4 separate regions of the Homo sapiens genome follow, and regions 1, 3 and 4 are each linked to region 2. Evidence: promoter capture Hi-C in 16 types of primary human blood cells and fetal thymus (Javierre and others, 2016). All regions are on one chromosome and are shown on one strand. The core of a region is centred on a gene start or on the middle of the fragment in contact, and the rest is flanking DNA. Distances in the headings are between cores, read along the strand shown. Region 1 has its middle 2.5 kb from the start of BBS9. Region 2 holds the start of MPLKIP (M-phase specific PLK1 interacting protein). Region 3 overlaps LSM5 (LSM5 homolog, U6 small nuclear RNA and mRNA degradation associated). Region 4 holds the start of DPY19L1 (dpy-19 like C-mannosyltransferase 1).

What was found. Contacts are between HindIII fragments. The CHiCAGO score rates a contact against its expected background, and 5 or more counts as called.
Region 1: a contact is called between a fragment that was not itself captured here and the fragment with the promoter of MPLKIP in region 2, in 1 of 17 cell types (total CD4 T cells). The highest score is 7.8, in total CD4 T cells.
Region 3: a contact is called between a fragment that was not itself captured here and the fragment with the promoter of MPLKIP in region 2, in 4 of 17 cell types (total B cells, total CD4 T cells, naive CD8 T cells and 1 more). The highest score is 13.2, in total B cells.
Region 4: the fragment with the promoter of DPY19L1 here is called in contact with the fragment with the promoter of MPLKIP in region 2 in 2 of 17 cell types (non-activated CD4 T cells and monocytes); the score reaches 7.4 in non-activated CD4 T cells.

The regions. Positions count from the first base shown.
Region 1 is chr7:33,125,032-33,129,151 of GRCh38, forward strand. No RefSeq gene overlaps it. Among named protein-coding and RNA genes, the nearest start is that of BBS9, 2.5 kb to the right of the region's middle. RefSeq lists an enhancer at 3,946-3,995. The HindIII fragment of the contact is 3,349 bases long and covers 603-3,951 here.
Region 2 is chr7:40,132,804-40,136,452 of GRCh38, forward strand. MPLKIP (M-phase specific PLK1 interacting protein) reads right to left here and starts at 1,819. Exons shown (of 2, transcript NM_138701.4): 1 at 1,426-1,819; 2 at 1-456. The coding sequence starts at 1,764. The coding sequence ends at 256. SUGCT (succinyl-CoA:glutarate-CoA transferase) reads left to right here and starts at 2,202. Exons shown (of 14, transcript NM_001193313.2): 1 at 2,202-2,317. The coding sequence starts at 2,218. RefSeq lists silencers at 1,545-1,614, 2,075-2,274 and an enhancer at 1,825-1,894. The HindIII fragment of the contact is 4,548 bases long and covers 231-3,649 here.
Region 3 is chr7:32,482,964-32,486,566 of GRCh38, forward strand. LSM5 (LSM5 homolog, U6 small nuclear RNA and mRNA degradation associated) reads right to left here. Exons shown (of 5, transcript NM_012322.3): 5 at 2,375-3,603. Among named protein-coding and RNA genes, the nearest start is that of LSM5, 5.6 kb to the right of the region's middle. The HindIII fragment of the contact is 5,746 bases long and covers 1-3,603 here.
Region 4 is chr7:35,035,456-35,039,215 of GRCh38, forward strand. DPY19L1 (dpy-19 like C-mannosyltransferase 1) reads right to left here and starts at 2,030. Exons shown (of 22, transcript NM_001366673.1): 1 at 1,642-2,030. The coding sequence starts at 1,939. It overlaps LOC105375228 (a long non-coding RNA gene), which reads left to right and starts at 1,331. Exons shown (of 3, transcript XR_001745162.3): 1 at 1,331-1,466. RefSeq lists silencers at 1,720-1,889, 1,920-2,589 and an enhancer at 2,640-2,869. The HindIII fragment of the contact is 4,166 bases long and covers 437-3,760 here.

The sequences.
Region 1 (4,120 bases), core at 1,027-3,526, 7.0 Mb before region 2:
TTAAGAAGTAATCTAGATGTAATTGATAAAAAATAAATTAGTTAATTGTAAATAGAATAAATATTTATAAATAAAATTTTTATGTAATTTAAAATCCTGAAGTTATATTATGTTAAATAGTAGATACGATGTCTGGATCACATCCAAATAAGATAAAAATGGAAACAAACCACTGAATAAATATAAGTTCATTTTTGGCTTTTTAAAGTTTATAAAATTATAAATATATTTATATCTATTAATCAAAAATGAATTTAGGAAAAAATACTTTTGTATGATAAATAATCTTGAATAGTAAATTTTAGTCCTATAAAATAATTGGCTTTTTTAAAAAATGAAAAATGGTAGGACAAAGACTTGGGGGTTAAAAAAATGAGAAAATGTCTAAGCAAGTCAAAGAGCATTTATGAATAATAGGCCTGTGAGAAAACTTTTATGAATGATCAGGTTGGCCAGAATTAAAAATAAATAGTTTATAAGTGGTTTTCTAAAATTTAAACATTAATGTTGGAGGTGCACTGATACAGGACCAGAGCCTGGTCCTCCATTTTTAAAACAACATTTTCTTGAAGTATTGATCTGCTCCTGATAAAATTGTAAGAAGCTTTCATTTTGAATTCTAAAATCTATTTCTTTAACTGCTATCCCCTAAACTGCAGGCAGTTTCTATTTCTGCCACCTTTTTTCACTGAGATTCATTTAATTTCCCTAGTTTCACATTAAAAATGCTGTCTTCTTCATTTAAAATAATAATTTCTTTGCTTTTTTTTTTGAGATAGGGTTTCACTCTGTCATGCAGGCTGGAGTGTAGTTGCACGATCATGGCTCACTGCAGTCTTGACCTACTGGGCTCAAGCAGTCCTCCAACTTCAGCCCCCTTAGTAGCTGAGATTAAAGGCACACGTAACCACGCCCGGCTAATTTTTGTATTTTTTGTAGAGACAGGATTTTGTCATGTTGCCCAGGCTGGTCTCGAACTCCTGGGCTCAAACGATCTGCCCACCTCGGCCTCCCAAAGTGCTTGGATTATGGACATTGCACCCGTCTGGTAATATCATTTCTTGAGGTAGAGTTTTGCTTTTGAAATTTCTCAGATTTCGTATCTCAGTGGTTCAAATTTGCCATGTCTTGCTATTTGATTTCCAGGTCATATATCATTGCATTCAGGTTTTCTCCTCTTTAGAAAGCCTGGGATGGTAACTCTCTCCTTCAATTTTTTCATCAGTTGCTATACAATTTTTTTTTTTTGGTTCTAATTGCTGGTATGGCCTGACACTAAAGGTTTATCCTGAAGGCCTAGAAATCAATGCTCTTTTTCAATATAACTTGATTCTGTACTCTTGGCTTTTCTTGATACATGTGAATTGTTATAATCATGACCTGGGACACATCTTCCTGTATCTGATTAAATTCAAGTACCCTTTTCATCAGATTCGACCTCCAGGTTATCTAAATGAGCTCCCCAAAAGGAGAAACAATCACATTGCAGAAAGTTTTTCTTTACTTTTTTGGTACCTGGCCTAAGGAAGATTATACATTTTATCAACATAATTTCCTGTGTTGCTTTTATTAGATTTGATTTTTTTTTAACCTGAAGTTTAAAATGGTTAAGATAGTTTTAATGTAATTATTTGTATGGCTTTTTAAGCCTTTTGATTATCACTCTGGTTATATAAATGACTTATTTCACAAGTAACTTGTGATTCTGTATTGATACAGTGTTTTGAGCCCTTTAAAAACTTCCTCAAAATCAAATTCCAATTTAAGTTTTTTAAATGTAGAATTAACTTTGGAATTTTCCAGTTGGACTCCTGGAAAGCATTAAAACATATCTTTCTCATCTTTTAGAGGTATTAAATGATTTGGGTTATTTGGTAAATTTTATAAGAAATATTGTCAAACGATAACTGATACTAGATTTTTCTTTTATTTGCATTTATGGGAATATTGTTTATATGAATGTTTGAAAAATTATATAAGTCCATACAAGTATGCTGGGAATGATGGCTCATGCCTATAATCCCAACACTTTGGGAGGCTGAGGTCAGAGGATTACTTATAGCCAGGAATTTGTGTCCAGCTTGGGCAACAAAACAAGACCCTGTCTCTATTAAAACAAAACAAAACAAAACAAAAACAAAAAAAACCAAAAAAAAACCAAGCATGGTGGTACAAACGTGTAGTCCCAGCTACTTGAGAGGCTGAGGCAGAAGGATTGCTTGAGTCCAGGAGTTTGAGATTGCAGTCAGCTATGAATGTGCCACTGCACTCTAGCCTGGGCAATAGAGCAAGACCCCATCTTTAAAAAAAATTCGTACAAATGTATTATATTACCAGTCATAATTCTGGTTATCTTAAAATACTGTATATAATAGCAATAAATAAATGTTCTTCTCAGTTGTTAACTTCATCAGATTTTTAACCATGGCTATTTTAAGTTTTTGTCATCCATATTATTGTTTTGAATTCTTTTTTAAAAAACAGACTCCTGGAAAATATTCTAACAAGTACTCTTTTATTTTTATTTATTTATTTTTGAGACAATCTTGCTCTGATGCCCAGGCTGGGGTGCAGTGGCACGATCCTGGTTCATTGCAACCTCTGCCTCCCTGGTTCCAGTGATTCTCATGCCTCAGCCTCCTGAGTAGCTGGGATTACAGGCATGCGCTACCACGCTGGGTTAATTTTTTGTATTTTTAGTAGAGATGGGGTTTCACTATATTGGCCAGGCTTTTCTCCAACTCCTGGCCTCAAATGATCCTCCCGCCTTGGCCTCCCAAATTGCTGGGATTACCGGCATGAACCATTGTGCCTGGCCCTAAAATATACTCTTAGATTTGGGTTTCTAACAACTTGAAGATCAATGGACAATATAACAATTTCCAGAACTGTAATAAAAAAGTGGGTTCATGAAACTATTAATCAAGATCAGGCAGAACAAGAATTAATTACGTGAGTTTAACTAATGAAGACAATGTTTTTATGATATTATTTCAAATGTTGTTGGTTCTTTACTCAAATAGTTTTTTCCAGATTTAAGAAAATCTTGTCTTTTAAGCTATTTATAATTTACAGCAATTTGATAGAGTATACTTGTGTAAAAAAAGATAAAAACTTTTTTTCTCTTTACTTGATTCCTCCATAATTAGAAAACCATTTGTGAGTCTTCTTATGGTAATATGGTCATTTCAATAAGTCTAATAAAAATCTGCTCTCTCTGTATAGCAGAATACAATTGGAAACTGGTTATATTACCAAGGCTTTGACTGAAAGGTCATTTTTAAAAATATTGAGGCCGGACGCGGTGGCTCACGCCAGCAATCCCAGCACTTTGGGGGACTGAGGTGGGTGGATCGTTTGAACCCAGGAGTTCGAGAGCAACCTGGACATGGCGAAACTCCATCTCTACAAAAAATACAAAAATTAGCCAGGTGTGGTGGTCTGTGCCTGTAGTCCCAGCTTACTAGGAAGGCTAAGGTGGGAGAATCGTTTGAGCCCGGGAGGCTGAGGCTTCAGTGCTTCAGTGAGCAGTGATCCTGTCACTGCACTCCAGTCTAGGCGACCCTGTCAGGGAGACCCAGTCTCAGTTAAAAAAAAAAAAAAAACCCAAAACCCAAAAAACTAAAACTAGAATGGTATTTTCTACTGGGAATGTGGATTTGTGGATTGATGGTGAAATACTGGAAATTTAAAGCCTACACTAGAATCCATTGAAAAAAGCAAACAAGAAAAACTTCAAGGTTGGCTACATTGAATTTGAATGTAAAGATTAAAAAAAAATAAGTAAAAAACAAAAGAAGACATAGATCCAATCCCATATACCAGGAAATGCACTCTAAGGTATATACGGAAAATATATTTAACACATGTGTATCAGGACGCAGGCACAAGTAACTTCAAAGCAGCGCTGTTTCAAATAGTAAAAAAAGGAAAAACTGGAAACTGTTCAAAAGCTTCATCATCTCGATGATCTTGGTCTTCCGCCTCGCCTTCTTCTCCAAGGTGAATATGTACTGGGCCAGCACCACCCCCGCCACCAGGGCGCACACGCTGGCGCTCGCTACCGCGACCACCCTCGCCACGGTCGCGCGGTGCATGGACGGGGCCCTCATGAGTGTCC
Region 2 (3,649 bases), core at 569-3,068:
TGTAACCAGGAATGTTAAATATATGGAAACGGTAAATCTCTAAAATGTGGTAGGTACTTCCAGAGCTAAATGTTGCAAGTTATCCTACTTTTTTCTCTAATATCAACAATACCTGATACGATGAAAAATAACAAAAAGACCTTACTAATTATCCAATCAAAGTCATCATCTTTGGGTAAATTTATATCAACACAACTTAAAGTTTTGTCCAAGATGTTCCTGACACATGAAGCTTCCAGTTGAATTTCAGAAATGTTAACAAAAGTATCTTCCTTTTTTGCCTGTGAATGTTTGAGTATTGCTGTATTGTTGGCTTATATCCACTACAGATACTGGTTCTAGGCCAGCCCAAGGATCTTCAAGCATTGAAGGCTTGAAATAATTTTCCAACTCATTAGACATTCTTTTTTCTCTAACACGCCCTGATCCAAATGGTGTAGATGTCCTTGGAGAACCCTTTAGAAAAAAAATCAGTTAAAAAAACACTTAGTAAAGATAATTGGTACTTCTTCCTTTAGCTAAAGGTTAGCGGGAATCACATTGCTGCTTAAAAGTTGTGACTTGAACCTAAATAATGTTCAATTACAAAGTCCATGCTTCCTTTAATCAAGTGTTCCTATTTTTTAAAAAAAGTACTTAAAGCAATTCGTTATTCTCATTTATTTATAATTCCATGACCACTGTCATCTCAAATACTTTTGTGTCTAATGTAGTAACTTTGCAGTAATTAAATACAAGCAGTGATGAAATCAAGTAATTATATTCAATTTTCCCTCGAAATTTTCACTTTTTTCAGGAGAAAACAATACTATAGTTTTAAAGTTTCTAGAACCTTTCTAGCTCATGAACATTTTCTTTACTCCTTAGCTCCAGGCTCAAAAGGGGTAGGGGGTTGGTGTAGAATACAGCAAGTTGGAAAACCACGTAGTTGCAAGTTGTAAACCACAGAAATCCCAGACATGCTAGAGATACTCTCTCTGTCTTTTGTATTTACTCTCACTAAAGGAATGGAAAACTTCCACTACCACCGATTTTCTTTTCAGGGAAGTTGGAGCAGAAGCCAGTGTAGCTCGAAAGAAAGATAAAAAAAAAAAAAAAAAAAAGAAAAAGAACTATTTCTTGAAACAAACTGGCAAGGCCTTTGGCAAACAGGAGGAAATGGAGAATTAGGAAAATCTGTGTACGGGTGGCAGTGTATTGGTTAAAAGCACGAGGGCTCGAAAACAGAACGTACGGCTCTGCCACTCTTTCGGATAATCTTCCGGAAGTCACTCAACTTCTCTAAGCCTCAGTTCGCTCATCTGCAAAATTGGGCTAACAATAGTACCTCAGAGAGGATTAGACAAAATAATCCACGTAAAGGGAATATTAGTACCGTGCCTGCCATAAAGTAAGAGCTCGGCAAACGCTGGCTATTATTATTACCTGGGGGTGGGTCTGCTGCTGCCCTGGGGAGTAGCCGAATTGCTGCTGGGACCCCGCGGGGGACCTGGAGTAGGAGCCAGGGTAGCCGCCAGGGGACGGAGACCCGAACCGGCCCCCCGGGAAGCTGCCGCCGTGTCGCGGAGAGTGACTGCTCCCGTACGGCCTAGACCGGGGCCCGTACGGCGGCGTGTGGTGCGGACTCCCGTACCCGTCTCGAGGGGAGGGCGGCCGTGGTCCGCCCCCGCCCGGGGTTCCCCGGAAGCTGCTTCCGCTACCCCAACCTCCTCCACCCGGACCAGGGTAAGGAGGAGTTGGGGGCCGAAAATTCTGTCGCTGCATATCAGGAGCCAAAGCCGAAAACCTCGCAGCCGCGTTCTCCCACCGGAACTGTATCAACCGGCCCTCCGCAGAGAACTGCTAGTCCTTTACCAAAACAGTCCTCCGACCGCAGCCACCCTACGGCACATCAGTTCCGGCGTCACAAAGGTTCCGCCAGGGGCGGCGGGATTACCTAAATCACTGACTTGGCGAGAGACTCAGTGGATTTAAGTGAAAAGAGGAAGAAAAGGAGACAGGAAAGGACGGACACCCAAGCCCAGCAACAACCTTTCCAGTCTGAGTGCCCTTGGTCTGACCGACAGACTAGAAGCTGGCCCAGCAGGCGACTAGTGCTCAGCCCCGCCCGGCGGGGGCGGGGTCTGCGGCGTCCGTGGGCGCCCCCCAGTGGCGGCGGGTGGCGCCGCACGGAGTTCGCCGCTTGCACCGGGACCGATGCCATCTGAGACGCACGCGATGCTGGCGACGCTGGCGAGGGTGGCAGCTCTGCGCAGAACCTGCCTCTTCTCCGGCCGGGGCGGCGGGAGGGGGCTGTGGACTGGCCGCCCGCAGTCAGGTACCCTCCGAGATTCGGTCTGGGTGGCTAAAGGGATCCCTGCCCCAGCTTGCCTCCTCGGGCGCCCTGAGGAGAGCAATTAGGGTCTGAAGTCTCTGCTGACCCCTTAGCGGTGGCTTTGCTCGCCTCCCTGCAACCCCGTTCCGTGGGCCTGCGGCCGGCCTGCCCCGCTCTGGCCGCCCAGGGTCGCCTCTGTCCCGTGCGTTGTTGTGACCGAGGGCTCCGTGCGCCGTGGGGTCCCGCTCCTGCGCGTCCCGCGGCTCGCGTTTGGGGCCTCTTTACTCCTGTCCTTTCGTCCGCCAAGTTTAAGTAACTTCGAAAATGCACACCAAGCCACATTTCAGAAAGGACTTTAGCCCGCTGCTTTGAATAACTTGACACTTCATGTACAATAAAAGATGCCCTTGTACAGTTACCTGTTGCAGAATTTTATTTAGAGGATGAAATTTAGCTTTACTACAGTGTTATAGAACTTTCTTTACTCCCTCTGAATTTGGGAATGGTAATCCACTATGAATCTTTTTTTTCCTTTTTTCTTTTTTTCTCTTTTTTTTGAGACGGAGTCTCGCTGTCTCGCCCAGGCTGGACTGCAGTGGCGCGATCTCGGCTCACTGCAACCTCCTCCTCCCGTGTTCAGGAGATTTTCCTGCTTCAGCCTTCCGAGTAGCTGGGATTATAGGCATGCGCCACCACGCCCAACTAATTTTTGTATTTTTAGTAGAGACGGGGTTTCGCCATATTGGCCAGGCTGGTCTCGAATTCCTGACCTCAAGTTATCCTCCCGCCTCGGCCTCCCAAAGTGTTGAGATTACAGACGTAATCTCTATGATTATGCGCGCGGCCCACTATGAATCTTGAAATTAGTTGCAGGATGCAGGATTTTTTTTTTTTTTTTTGAGACAGTCTCGCTCTGTCGCCCAGGCTGGAGTGCAGTGGCGCGATCTTGGTTCACCACAACCTCTGCCTCGCGGGTTCAAGCGATTCTCTTGCCTCAGCTTTCTAGAGTAGCCGAGATTACAGGCATGTGCCACATGCCCGGCTAATTTTTTTGTATTTTTAGTAAAGACGGGTTTCACCATGTTGGCCAGGCTGGTCTCAAATTCCTGGGCTCAAGTGATCCGCCTGCCTCTGCCTCCCGAAGTGCTGGGATTTCATGCGTGAGCCACCGCGCCTGGCGTAGGATACAGAATCTTAAAAGAGCTTTAGGACTCATTAAATCATAGCCTAACGGGTAGCCTGGACCTGTGATTTCCATTCACCCTCTTGTAGCTGCTACTCCTCGCTGTCTCTTTGACATGTTCTGTGACATCCCAAGCTGACGAGTGTGGTATC
Region 3 (3,603 bases), core at 920-3,419, 7.6 Mb before region 2:
AATAAATCCCCTTATATATCTATATACATATACTATTGGTCATCTCTGGAGAACCCCAACTAATAAATGGTCTAACCTGGCATATCAGCACACCAACACCCAATAATAAAATGCCAACAACAGAGATGCCCAAATCTACATATAATCCTGTGCCATTATCAAATTTACTGGAATTCAAAAATTAAACCTCCTTCCAAATCAAAGTCCAAAAATGTTAAACTCCACTAGAATTAAAATCCAAAACTAAATACCCTTATTTTTGTAAGTTAAGAATCAACCAGCCTAGGCAACATGGTGACACCCTGTCTCTACAAAATATTAAAAAATTAGGCCAGGCACGGTGGCTCACAACTGTAATCCCAGCACTTTGGGAGGCCAAGGCGAGTTGATCGCTTGAGCCCAGAGTTTGAGACCAGCCTGGGCAATATGACAAGACCCAGTCTCTATCAAAAACACAAAAAATTAACCAGGTGTGGTGGTGTGCACCTGTAGTGTGGGAGGATCACCTGAGCCCGAGAAGTCGAGGCTACAGTGAGCCATGACCACTGCACTCCAGTCTGGGTGACAGACCGAGACCCTATCTTTAAAAAAACAAAAAGAGAAAAGATAGCTGGGCATGGTGGCACCTGCCTGTGGATCCAGCTACTTGGGAGGCTAAGGGGGGAGAATCGCTTGATCCCAGTGGTTCGAAGCTGCAGTGAGCACTGATCACACCACTGCACTCTAGCCTGGGTGACAGAGCAAGACCTTGTCTCAAAACAAACAAAAAATGTCCAACATTCTTAAGTTAAATGCCCAAAACAACCTTTCCCAAATCCTTATTCTGTTCAGTCTTAACCAGAAGGGGGTTTGATGCTTAGGTGGTTAAAGTCCTTTCAGCAGCCACAACCCAAGCTGTTACTCATGGGAAAGTAATTTCTTTAGGGCCTCAGAAGTTACACTAGATATGCCTCAGATACATCACTTTTTAAAAATTGAGATGTAATTCATGTAACATGAAATCCACTCTTTTAAGGTTATAATTCAGTGCTTTTTAGTATATTCACAAGGTTGTGCAACCATCTAATCCCAGAACTTTTTCATCACCCCAAAAAACAAACCCATACCCATTAGCAGTCACTAGTATAGTTGTCTATTTCTGTGAATTTGCCTGTTCTGGATCATATAAATCAAATATGTGGTCTTTTGTGTCTGGCTTCTTTCACTTAGCATAATGTTACAGTTCATCCACACTGTAGCATACACAAGTACTTCATTCATTTTAACAGATAATATTCTATTGTATGAATATATCGCATTTCAGTTATCCATCCATCCATCGATGGACATTTGGGTTGCTTCCACTTTGAGACATTAGGAATAATGCTGCCGTGAATGTTCATACAAGTTTTTGTGCAGACATGTTTTTAGTTCTCTTGGGTATGAACTGAGGAGAGGAGTTGCAGGGTCGTATGGTAATTGTTTAACTTTTTGAGGAATCATCAAATTATTTTCCACAGTGCATGCATCATTTTACATTCGCACCAGCAAGGTACTAGGGCTCCAATTTCTTCATATCCCAGCCAATACTTGTTACATTAATTTTTGTACAATTCTTGTTACAATAATTTTTTATAATTATAGCCATTCTATAGCACCCATGAAATGGCGTTTCATTGTAGGTTTTGAGACGGGGTCTCACTGTCACCCAGGCTGGAGTACAGTGGTGCAATCATAGCTTACTGAAATCTCAAACTCCTGGGCTCAAGCAATTCTCCTGCCTCAGCCTCCCAACTACGTAGGACTACAGGTGCATGCACACTACCACACCTCACTAATTTTTTAAAATTTTTGGTAGAGATGGGGTCTCACTATATTACCCAGGCTGGTCTCCAACTCCTGGCCTCAATCTATCCTTCCACCTCGACCACCTACAATGTAGCACTGGGATTACAGACATGAGCCACTGCACCTGGCCTAACTCCTATGATGAAAAAAGGAAGAGCTTGGGTATGACTATTAGCTCCCCTGGGATAGCAAATAATAAAGGGGTGGAAAGAAGCAGGTGTTACATCACTTACTCCCCTCCAAAGGGAAAGAAACAACAGTGGAGGGAAAGCATTGCCCCCAAGAGTTAGAAGCAAAGTGTGAGGCAACCAGCTCATACTGGCTCCTGAGAATCAACTGTCAAATCCTTGAGAATTTTGCAAACCAGTTGTTAAAGCCTTGGTAGCTTGAAATTAGCCAAGGCAGTAGTACTGACAACATGTAAATCAGAGAAAACTACAAATCAGTGCTTTGTGTTTTGGAAAATAAGGTTGGATCCTTTTTCCATGTGGTAATACCAAAATTCCAGATAGATTCCAGATTTAAATCAAACGCAGAAAACATAAAGTGCCCAAAGAAAAGTATAATCAAAGCAAAGGTTTTCCAATCCACGTGGACCAAATACAAAAACCATAATGGACTAGGTCAACATGCAACTACATTAAAATACATCATTTATGTCAAAAATAGCACTAAGTGGCAAACTACAAACTAGGGAAATTATTAGCAAAATACATGACTAACAGAAACCCATCAAGAATTCTTACAAATTAGTAAGAAAAAGACAAACATCTCAATGGCAAAAGCCTCAACAGATAAGTCATTTACAAAATACAAATGAGATCAAAATTAATCAAGAAAATTTTAGGCCAGGCCTGGTGGCTCATGCCTTTAATACCGGCACTTTGGGAGGCTGAGGCAGGTGGATCACTAGAGGTCAGGAGTTCAAGACCAGCCTGGCCAACAAGGTAAAACCCCATCTCTCTAAAAATATAAAAATTAGATGGGAGTGGTGGCGCCCACCTGTAATCCCAGCTACTCAGGAGGGTGAGGCAGGACAATCACTTGAACCTGGGAGGCGGAGGTCGCGTTGATATCGCGACAAGGCACACCAGCCTGACTGGAGGTTGCAGGGAGCCAAGATCATGCCACTGCATTCCAGTGAGACTCTCCAAAAAAAAAAAAAAAAAAAAAAAAAGGAAAAGAAAACTTTAGACATGCCCGGTTTTCTTGTAAAAATGGCAAAGAGGAGAGAAGGTAGAACACAGCTAATGCTGGGAAGGATATAAATGGTACTATGAAAGACTCCTGGCAAAAATATACATTGGCACAAACTTTTTCTTGGCAACACAATATATACCCTTTGATCTTACACATTTTTGAGTTTATTCTAGAAAAATACAAATGTATAAAGATCTAGTTAGACTACTGTGGCCAGTAAGAATAGGCTAAATAATTTATAGTAAATCCATTTAATACTATGTACATATTAATGTTGAAATATTTGACACAGAAAGATATTCACCATTTAAATTCAAAAAATGACTTAAGTGGAGGGTAAAAACAGTATAATCAGGATGAGCAAGTAAAATAAAACGTGTACTGAGAGTGGACTGAGAAAGTCTACGAAGACATACAGCAAAGCATGATCAACCTTCTCCTTTTTGCTTACCTACAATTCTACGATGTGCATATATTACCTGTTTGTTTTTAATAGGAGTTCTTTGACTTAATTTATACAGTTCAATGATCTTATTATCAGTTCCTTGATTTGACCTGAGTCCTGGAGTTCTTAGC
Region 4 (3,760 bases), core at 780-3,279, 5.1 Mb before region 2:
TATCATTATTCTAAGATTTGTTATTGTAACATCCCTGAAGAAGCAATGCCATTCTATATTTTACTACAAAGTGGTTAATGTTTAGTCATTCAATAAAAATGCAACTCCATTCTGTCATCAGATCTCAAATCAGCATCACACACTTTCTTTTATTACAACAACTACAATGTGTCAAGTGCTCTAAACACAAAGTATCTTCCCATGTATCACCCACACCTTTTAGTTATGATCCTTAACAGATCCTGTGGATCCCTGTGGAGTAAATTCGCCATGTGATAACCCCCCACTAGCAGAGAACGAAAGACTCACAAAGGAACCTGAAACTTAAACCAAACTGAACCGCTGTGTACTAGATCTGAAGGCTCTGCCTCATCCACTGTATCGTGCTGCCTCCCCAAGGTGAGCTTTTCTAACCTGCATACTAGCCAGCTTTTCAAGCTTGCTACTGAGATAAAAAAAAAGGGGGCGGGGGGAAATGTGCTGGAAACAGACAAACAAACAAACAAAGAAAAACAAACTTGGTTTTTCTAGGCTTGAATCGGCAATGGGGGGAAAAAAAGTACCCTAGGAACAACCTTCTTGAGCCCATTAAAACATACAGAGATGACTGGCTTTTTATGACTGAGTGGCTTTTATTTGTGGCTGTGATCTCAGGGGAAGCCAATTTGCTGTGTCCTATTCCTTGACTTATACTGGACCCCAACTCCTGGCTAAGGGAACTTTGAGTCACCAAGGGAATCTGAAAATATACTAAGGGATAAATCAACAGTAATTAAATAGTTCAGTAGCGAAAAGCCCACTGAGGCATATAGAAAAAAGCAATGTAACAGCATTTCACTAGTTGACTTAGAAAAATTAGGCCTGTTATCCAAACTGCTACAACTTGCCTTATCAAAATTCAACCAGGAAACAGAGGAAACCTGAAGTCAGTCCGAAACATACGAATGCGTCAACTTTGTTTTTTTTTTTCAGCACATCATTACACATCATCCATTTGGTAAATGGCAGAGGGAGGGGAGGAGAGCCCTCCTCACCAAAGGTTCCAAGGGCAGCAGGGAGGATTAAGGCTCGGGCGCCCCAAACACAACACAACCTAGAAAGTGACGTGTCGAGGGGAATCACAAATAAAGTGCCACCAGCGGCGTTTGCGGCCAGGAAGAAAAAAGTACGCTAAAATTTAATTATAAGTTTAAGCAACTCTCTACGACATGGAACGTGCGTTTGCTTTGAGCTCCACGGAATCGTTTCCAAGCCAAAGCAAACCATCCTGGCGGTCAGAGGCCGAGATAACGGGAAGGCGGCCAGTCGTACCAATCAGCAGCGCTCAAGTCTCGTTAGCGCAGACCTGCTGCCCGCGGCCAGGCCGGGCAGCTGTTGATCCCCGGGCCATTCTTTTAAAGCCCAGGCAGAGCGCGGGTGGGAAGCGTGCGAGGAGAGCTGAGCCAGGGAGTTGCGGGGAGGAGAAGGTAAGAATGTCCCAGAGAAAAAGTCGGAGAGGGCTGCAAACTGGCTGGTCCGGCTGGCGGGGCTCGGCGCGGCGGAAGCGGGAGGAGAGGGGAAGGAAGGGGAGGGGAGGGGAGGGGAGGGGGCCAGCGCCTCAAAGTTCCGCGTCCCGGCGGCGCCGGCGCTAGGGCTGCTCACCTAACAGGAGCGTGGTCCAGGTCCGGCCGCGCCCCGCGCGCCGCAGGCCCAGCGCCCAGCGCAGCCGGGCGGCCAGGCGCCCCCCAAGGCCGCCCCCGGCGGGCGGCGCGCCGGGCTCGGCGCGGGGCCCCTTCCTGCCCGCGGCGCCCTTGCGCCCCGGGGACAGGGGCGCGCGCTCGGGCCCCGGCTCCCCGGCGCCGACGTCCGACGCCCCCCTCAGCGGCGACTGTGAGGCGCGGGGTGGCTGGGGCGGCTTGGGAGCCGCCTCCCGGTGCTTGTTCCGCGCCTGCAGGACCATCTTGGCATAGTCGCGCCCGCTCGCTGCGCGCGCCCGGACGGCGGCCAGAGAACGGCGGGCTGGCTGGGCGGCTGGGCGCAGCTCACTCTCCAGCGGGCGGGCGGGCGGAGGGTGGAGGGCGGGCTCGTCCCTCCCCGCGGGCCGGGAGGCGGGGAGATCGTGGAGGCCGGGCGGCTGCTGCCTGGCTGGCAGTACCGCCGGGAGGCGGCGCCGGACTTGCTAGCCCGCCGCCGTTGCCGCCGCTCCGGTTGTCACGGCGACCGCGGAACGCCGGGGGGCGGGGGCGGGGACACCCTGCGAGCGGCCGCGGCCCCGCCCCCGCCGCCCCTCTGCGCCGGACGCGCGCTCCAGGCCGGCCAGCGCGCACGCGCGGACTTCCGGCGCAGGCGGGGCCCGACCCCTCTGGCGCCCGGCTACCCACACCTCTTCGGCGCCCGCGCGGGGCTCGGCCGGTGCGAGGACGCGGGGGCGGACGGCCTTCCGGAGGCGGCCGCCCTTCCATTGTGGGAGTGATGGGGCCGAAGGAAGAGCCCTCTCGGGATCGGGGCGCTGATTCAAGTTTCGGAGCCTGTTAAGGCTGCGCTTGGAGCCCGCGCAGGCGAGACGCGGCGGGGCAGGGAGAAGGCGCCCGGAGCGGCCACTTAGGGGCGCTGTGCGTGCGCCCTGGGCGCCTGGTCGGCCCCACCGATGTGAAGCGCGCGGGTGGCAATCAAGTCACCGTCTCCGTTTACTCCCCGCAGTGTGGTCGCGCAACTTGGAGCGCAGCCCCTCACTCACCGACAAGAAGAACGGGTGCGACCCGATTTAAGATAGTAACAGAGTATTAAAATAGCAGCCTGGAATCTCATGGGGAGCTGATAAGGGACGAGGCACAAGTGTAAACTGAAGACCAGGGTAGGAGCCAGGCTGAAGGTGATAGGATGGATTGGCTGGAGCAGGAAAGATCATCAATAAGTACATTCAGTTTGTTACACTTGCTGTAACCTTGTTGCTTAATAGGAAGCAGGAAAACTTGGCGTTGATAAGATAGGAGATTTTAGTCGAAAATATGTTTTCTTTTACATAGCAGAATGCACGAGTAAATTAAACCCGGGAAAATTTAGAAACCCAGGTAGATCCCAATTCTCCCTCCACCCCTGCATTCTTTGCACACAGTCTTACAACAGCATGGATTACAACTGGGAGGTTCCTTTCCTGGCCGTGCCCAGTGGCTTGTTCCAAAAAGTTGTCTTTAAGTCCCAATGTTGTAAATCAAGGCCCATCGTTCTGCTTATCTCTATTGTAATTCCAGGGACTTCACGTGGCTTTCTCGCTCTTTGTTTCTTTGCCCAGTGATTTCTTTACTAATACCAGCATTCGTTCATTGTTAGCCTTTTTAAGAGACAGTGGATTATTTTGTAAAGGGAGGGTGTTTGCCATGCTAATTAATACTCCCTCATACCCTGTCTAGTTTATGAATTTGGATTTTCCAATGTCTTTATTGGAGCAAAGAACAACTATTTTTATACACTGGTTTAAAAAATAATGGTTGAAAGTAGGATGCAGAAGGCTTGGATTCTGAAACATTGTGTCAGCTGAACTCAATGCTACCTCTGGGATTAATGTTGAATGTATTCAGTTAAAAGAAAGCTAATTCAATGCCTATTAAAGATAATACGAATAACTGGCCGGGCACCGTGGCTCACGCCTGTAATCCCAACACTCTGGGAGGCCGAGGCGGGCAGATCACGAGGCCAAGAGTTCAAGACCAGCCTGGCCAAGATGGTGAACCTCTGTTTCTAATAAAAATACAAAAATTAGCCAGGCGTGGTAGCAGGCGCC